Regions from separate parts of the Homo sapiens genome. Here region 2 is linked to region 1. Evidence: promoter capture Hi-C in 16 types of primary human blood cells and fetal thymus (Javierre and others, 2016). All regions are on one chromosome and are shown on one strand. Each heading gives the region's core, a stretch centred on a gene start or on the middle of the fragment in contact. The rest is flanking DNA. Distances are from core to core; before and after follow the strand shown.

What was found. The method cuts DNA at HindIII sites, captures the fragments that hold promoters and counts their contacts. A CHiCAGO score of 5 or more calls a contact.
Region 2: the fragment with the promoter of SLC38A11 here is called in contact with the fragment with the promoter of COBLL1 in region 1 in 1 of 17 cell types (total B cells); the score reaches 5.0 in total B cells.

The regions. Positions count from the first base shown.
Region 1 is chr2:164,840,207-164,843,164 of GRCh38, reverse strand. COBLL1 (cordon-bleu WH2 repeat protein like 1) reads left to right here and starts at 1,342. Exons shown (of 14, transcript NM_001365672.2): 1 at 1,342-1,455; 2 at 1,919-2,009. The coding sequence starts at 1,969. LOC101929633 (a long non-coding RNA gene) reads right to left here and starts at 2,416. Exons shown (of 2, transcript NR_110574.1): 1 at 2,343-2,416. RefSeq lists a silencer at 1,159-1,368. The HindIII fragment of the contact is 5,265 bases long and covers 686-2,958 here.
Region 2 is chr2:164,954,140-164,957,382 of GRCh38, reverse strand. It overlaps SLC38A11 (solute carrier family 38 member 11), which reads left to right and starts at 1,858. Exons shown (of 12, transcript NM_001351537.2): 1 at 1,858-2,174; 2 at 2,638-2,752. The coding sequence starts at 2,136. The HindIII fragment of the contact is 8,780 bases long and covers 1-3,243 here.

The DNA of each region.
Region 1 (2,958 bases), core at 93-2,592:
ACAAATGGCACATTGCTAGGCATTTAGTTCAGCAATCTTTTTTTGTTGCTGCAATGGATAACCAACTAAAGGAGCATTAATATCAATTTAATTGTAATACCTGCCAAATGTTATTCTATCAGTGGCTAACACAGGTTTATTACTTGATGTTAGTGCTACAACAGAAGTCCCCTGCAGGATGTTCCTTCCTGTAAGATCTCTCCATCAGTTTAATCCAAATATGTTTTTAAAACTCTAATTTTAAATTCATTTCTTAATGTCACGTTGTTTTCTGAAAACACATTTTTGGGCCCATCAGAATGGCGCGCATCTTAAAACAATTGGCGCTTATGAAAAATATAAAATATGTAAATATATTAGGGTGGTGCAAAAGTAATTGCGGTTTTGTCATTACTTTTTAAAAAAAAAAAAAATGGCAAAAACCGCAGTTACTTTTGCACCAACCTAGTACCTGTCTGTCAGGTGTAAAGAATCATCTAAAGGGCATGCACGTGGATACTAAAACGTACAAACAAGCACACAGCTGTGTCTGATTCCTTTACCCTTGTAAAAGTTCCAATAAGTGAATACAATCTATTACTTAATTCTTAGTTTATAGACTGTCATTAGACATACTGTTGTCCAGTTCTCATGTCAGAGCTGTTATAGGCTTTTACAAAAAATGCCTCTGAAGACAGGGCAAGCTTAAACCTGCCACCAATTAGAAAGATCTGTGTCACAGGTGCGCTTTTAAAAGAATGGCAATCTTAAAGGTCAAGTTAAAAACACAAATTTAAAAAAACGATCCTGGACGTCGAGGGTCGGACTCTAGGGGGGGCAAGCTGCAGGCCCCACTCTGCGAGTTTCTGACCGCATTCCGCGGAGGCCCCAATCCTCCCCGCGGATCCTGGCAAGGCAGGTAACCTCCCTTCCCCCGCACCTGTCCGGTTCAGGCGCACCAGCCTTCCCGAAGCGCAGCCTAGCGGTGGGAATGGGAACACCTCGTCTGGGAGCTTTCTTTCGGTTCAGCTTCCCCAGCCGGACCCCAAAGACCCGAAGCCCTGGGGGAAGGAAATTCCAACTTGCTCCCGGCCCACCCCCGCCCCGTTCCTCTCTCCGGCTCGCTGCTTCCCTCGCTCCAATGCCGCCGAGCTGGTCCCCACTTATGTGCGGCCGTGCTGCAGAGGCGGCGGCGAGCTCCCGGACTCCGGGCAGGGAAATGGGGCAGGGTGAGTGAGAGAGCGGGCTCCAGCGAGGCCCCCAGCGCCCAGCCAGCGCCCGCACCCCGCCCGCGGGACAGGGGAGGTGCTGAGTCGGCCCTGCCCGCGCTGGGCTGAGCCTCGCAGGGGTTGCCGCTTCTCCATTCAAGTCCTGGCTTGAGAGCCGAGCGGCAAGAGCGCGGGCCGGGGAAGGGAAGAGTAGGAGAGGAAGCCGCGAGGGAGAACAGGCGAGCTACTGTCTCCTTTGGAAAAGAACGTAGGAGCCTTGGGTGGGAAAAGAGAGATCAGCCCTCCCAACTTCTCTTCGGGAAAAGTTTTCCTAGGGCGTTTTGTTTGTGCAAACTCGGCCGGAGGAGCCTGGGAGTGCGCTGCCGGCGTGGCAGCGGTGCCCGTGCGCCCGGCCCCGCTCCTCCTCCTTTTCCAGCCCCGGCGGCTCCTCTCCCTCCGAGAGGCGCCAAATGGCTACCCAGTAAACCCCACGGGGCGGGGGCTGCAGCGCCACCGCCTCCTCCGCCGTGCTCTGGGCGCCCGCTAGACCTTGTAGAGACGGCGGCGGCGCCCGCGGGCTGGGAGCCGGGGCCCGCAGGTGGAAGCGCACCCGGGAGGCGGGCCGGCCGGGGCTGGAGCGGCTCGGGCGGGCTCTTGACGCTCAGCCAGCTTCGCTCCGGCCTCGGGAAGGCGCGCGTCCCGCCCTGACCCGCCGGCCTCTCCCACCCCAGCAGTGACGCGCCGCCTGGGAGCTGGAGCCCGCGCAGCGCCCCGCAGGGCGATGGACGGCCGAACCCCGCGCCCGCAGGACGCCCCAGCCAGGTAAGCCCAGAGCGCCGCGCCGCCTCTCACCGGGGAGGGCGAGGCCGGCGAGGACAGCGAGGCCTCGGCCGTTTCACCTGGCTGGCAACTCGCTGCCCTGCCGGCGGCCTGACTCACTGACTGTCCTCCACGCGGCCGGGGAGGCTGCTTCCTCCCGGCCTTCTCGGAGGCCGCCCGGGCGGAGGGCTCGGGTCGTTTTTGGTTGCCTTCCTACCGGGGCTGCCCTGGGTTGCTACAGGCCAGCTGAATGCCAGGAATTGGGTGAGGAGTCCGGGAGCAAAAATTGTAACAAAGGGACCCTTGTTTGGGCTCTGGGGGAGCGGTGGACGATACCTGTAAGTGAGCTCCTGGGGAGGGAGGGCAAAAGTTTCCTTGGTCATGGGCTGAGGCCCAGGCAGGTGAGCAATGTCAAGGTGACTGTAGGGAGTGGGCTTTCTGCAGGCGGGTGGAGGGCGACAGGAGGGTGTGCCAGCTGTCAGCCCGCATGACAGTTCCGGGAGCGAGCGGGGTGCGCGCCTCTGATTGGGGGTGTGTGTGCCTGTGGCCAATTGCTGGTTCCAAAACCCAGCGCAAATCAGATTGCAAACAACTCTACTTTTCTTTTTATCCTCACATGTTTGAGAAGAGAGGAAGGGGGCTGTCACATGGTGAGTTAATATTAAATGAGGCATGTCTTCCTGCCAGATATGCTAATAGTTACCTTGTTAAGCGTTTGAGTAAACAGTAATGAGAACAGGTAGTTCTGCAAGAGATGAAGAAAACCTGAAAATAACCTTGGTCTTAGTAAATAGTTCAGGAGTAACCTGGATGCTAGTTGAGTTTCTCAAGTAGGAAACTCGTTTGATGTAGTACAAGATTTTTCCCCCCAGCATAAGTGTTCCTCCAACATAGTTTATTTTCTTAGTTAATCTGAATGCAGAAATGCCCTAATGAGAATACGAGCATTCCA
Region 2 (3,243 bases), core at 609-3,108, 110 kb before region 1:
GAGGAGGGTGGATCACCTGAGGTCAGGAGTTCAAGACCAGCCTGGCCAACATGGTGAAACCCCATCTCTACTAAAAATACAAAAACTTAGCCGGGCGTGGTGGCAGGCACCTGTATTCCCAGCTACTCCTGAGGCTGAGGCAAGAGAATCATTTGAACCCAGGAGGCAGAAGTTACAGTAAGCCCAGGTCACACCATTGCACTCCAGCCTGGGCAACAAAAGCGAAACTCCATCTCAATAATAATAATAATGATAATGAAGTTGAAAGTGTGCATGACCTACTACCTAACACTTCTACATCTAGAGAAATTGTCACTTTTATGCTCTGGAAGAGTGTAAAACGAGAAACAACCTTAATATCTTTCAGTAGGGGAAGGCTGACTTAACTGTTAGATAAAATGAAAAAAAAATCTGCATATATCTACATCATACATGCTGAAAACAAAAATGCCAGTGGAAAAATAACATGTACAATATGGCACCATCTTTGTAAATGTTGAAAATACAAAAGCCAATGTTATATATTGTTTATGGCTATAAATGAACGGATTAAAATACAAAGTATGAATAGCAAAGATAACACTAACTTGATGAACCGATGACTCCAGGGCTGAAGGCCTGGGGAAAGGAATGGAGAAGGTCAAGGGGGTTCCTATTGTGACATTGTGTTTACTTTTACAATTTGAAGAAAATATGACAGCATGTTAACATTTGATGGCAGAGTGTATATAAAGTTTATAAGTCTTTTGTTTTCCCACGGTTTTTAATTTTTTTTCTTAATTATAAGTAAACATGTATGAAACAGAACCTCTTTAATTAGGTACAGTTGGCCTCTATATCCCCACTTCTGCATCCATGCATTAAACCAATCCCAGATCAAAAATGTAGTTAGGGCTAGGATGGATGTGTCTATACTGAACACATATGGACTTTTTTCTTATTTCCTAAACAATACAGTATAACAACAAGTAAATAGCATTTACATTGTATTAGGTATTATAAATAATCTAGAGATGATTTAAAGTATGCTGGAGGATGTGCCTAGGTTACATGTAAATACCATGCTGTTTACTATCAAGGACCTGAGCATTCCTGGATTTCAGTATCTGCAGGGGTTCCAGAACCAATCCCCTATGGATATCAAGGGAAGGCAGAATTTGTTAAGTATGATGGCATATCACCGCTCTTATTGCCCCTGAAACTGTTGTCTCATGCATTCTGTCTCTGATATTGAATACTCTCTGGGCTTGTTGCTTCATCTGTAATGTAAGAGGACTGAATAGGTGGTCATTGAAGATTCTTTCTAGCTCAGGCACTGTAGGTGCCACCCCTTTCCCAAACCCTTGTACTCCTCTTTCCCTTTTCAAGGTTCATTACCTGAATGCAGTAACAATCCACCTTCATTTTCTCTATCGCTCCTTTTTCTAAAAGTTACCAGGAAGCGTTTGACCAAAGCATGCTCAGTAGTCAAGTTTGCTAAAACCCTAGGAAAGTTTTTTGTTTTGCTATTCATTTTCTTATGAGTCTTTCCATTTCCATTTACAATAAAAGTCCCAAATTTTCACTCGTCGTCTCTGCCATTGAAGAGGGGTAGCGAGGAGGAGGTGCTAATAGGGAAGATGGCCCATGGGCCCAAGGGTGCTTCTGCGTTCTTACCTGGGCTTCAGACCCCAGCAAAGGAGAAGCTAACTTAGGAACGGACTGCAACGAGGCGGTCATAACTCTGTGAGATCGGGGCAGGGCAGCGTGGGTGGAACAAGTTGTCCTCTGCAGCTCCAGGGAAGAGTAGCTCTCCCTGTTCTCTCAGGGAGGCGGGGGTGTGAAGGGGGGAGGCGGGGAGACAGGGCTGCCCGGATCAGAAACATCCTGCAGCATCTCCGTCTCCGGAGGAAAAATACATTTGTCTGGGCGAACTCCGGTGGAAAAGCGCCCCAGGCTGCCACAGCCTAGAGATCTTGGGGCTGCAGCCCTCGCGGCCTGCCGAGGGAGCAGGGGGCGCCCGTGGAACTGGCTCCCTGCAGCTCTGCGGCTACACGCGGACCTCGGCTGTGTGCGAGGTGGCGGAGGAGGCTGGCCGGGTGCGAATCCGTACCCAGCCCCAGCATCTTCCACCTGCTGAGGACCACCGCTCAGCCATGGGCTACCAGAGGCAGGAGCCTGTCATCCCGCCGCAGGTAAAACTAGCGACTAGGCAGGTTCTGAAGCCAGTTGTCCGGAAATTTCATTCACCTTGCAACAGGTCAGGTCACCTACCTTCACCTGGGCTCTTGGTTTAGCACCGCGAAAAGTTCTCTGGGACAAAAAGTTTTGCCTTAATCTGACTTTTTTTTTTTTTTTTCTTAGCAGGCACTTTAATTTCACAAAATCACATCACTGAATTCCTAACAGATCCTGTACTTAGCAGCTGGGGCAGCTGTAATCTGGAAATTTTAGGATGGAGTTTGCTTACCAAGCTCTGTTGAATTACTAGCTGTTATTGTTATTCTTTATTACTGTTATCCCGGCATTTATTTTATTTTCATTAGTGACATTACTTATTATTACTAGAAAATCGTGTTAGTATCCTGCATTACATATTTGTTACTTTTCTAATTTTCTGAACTAGTATTTGCTTATAATTGCTATTTTATCTATTAGAGAGATTTAGATGACAGAGAAACCCTTGTTTCTGAACATGAGTATAAAGAGAAAACCTGTCAGTCTGCTGCTCTTTTTAATGTTGTCAACTCGATTATAGGATCTGGTATAATAGGTAAGTGTATTTGCTTTGGTTTAAATTTTAAGTGAAAGGGCAAAATTTAAGACTCGCTACGCTGCTAGTGTTCATTAATTATTTTTAAAGAAAAAAAGACTTAAATAAGAAAATTGGTAATTTTCTTCCATAAAAGGCTTCCTTTTTTTCTAGTGTAACAGTATGTATGCATGTCTTTTATGCTGAAGATGGGGCTGTAATTCACACTGTTTCCACAGTTGAGAGCATCTTCCACATGTGGTAGATTAAGGTGAAACTGCATATGGGTGGTGGTGAATCATTTTTCTGTAGGCTGCGTGGTTGATTGCTAGTGTTACCGAATGTACTTTTTCCACTTACTGAAGGGTCCATCATTATTTGAATCATCTTTCTTTAACTTTCTAGAAGTATAAAACTTCCAGATATTTGTAAATGTTGGAGGTGAAAAGTTTAATATGAAAACATACCAATCTTATGAAAAATTAAATTCATACATTCTTTACCTATCTATA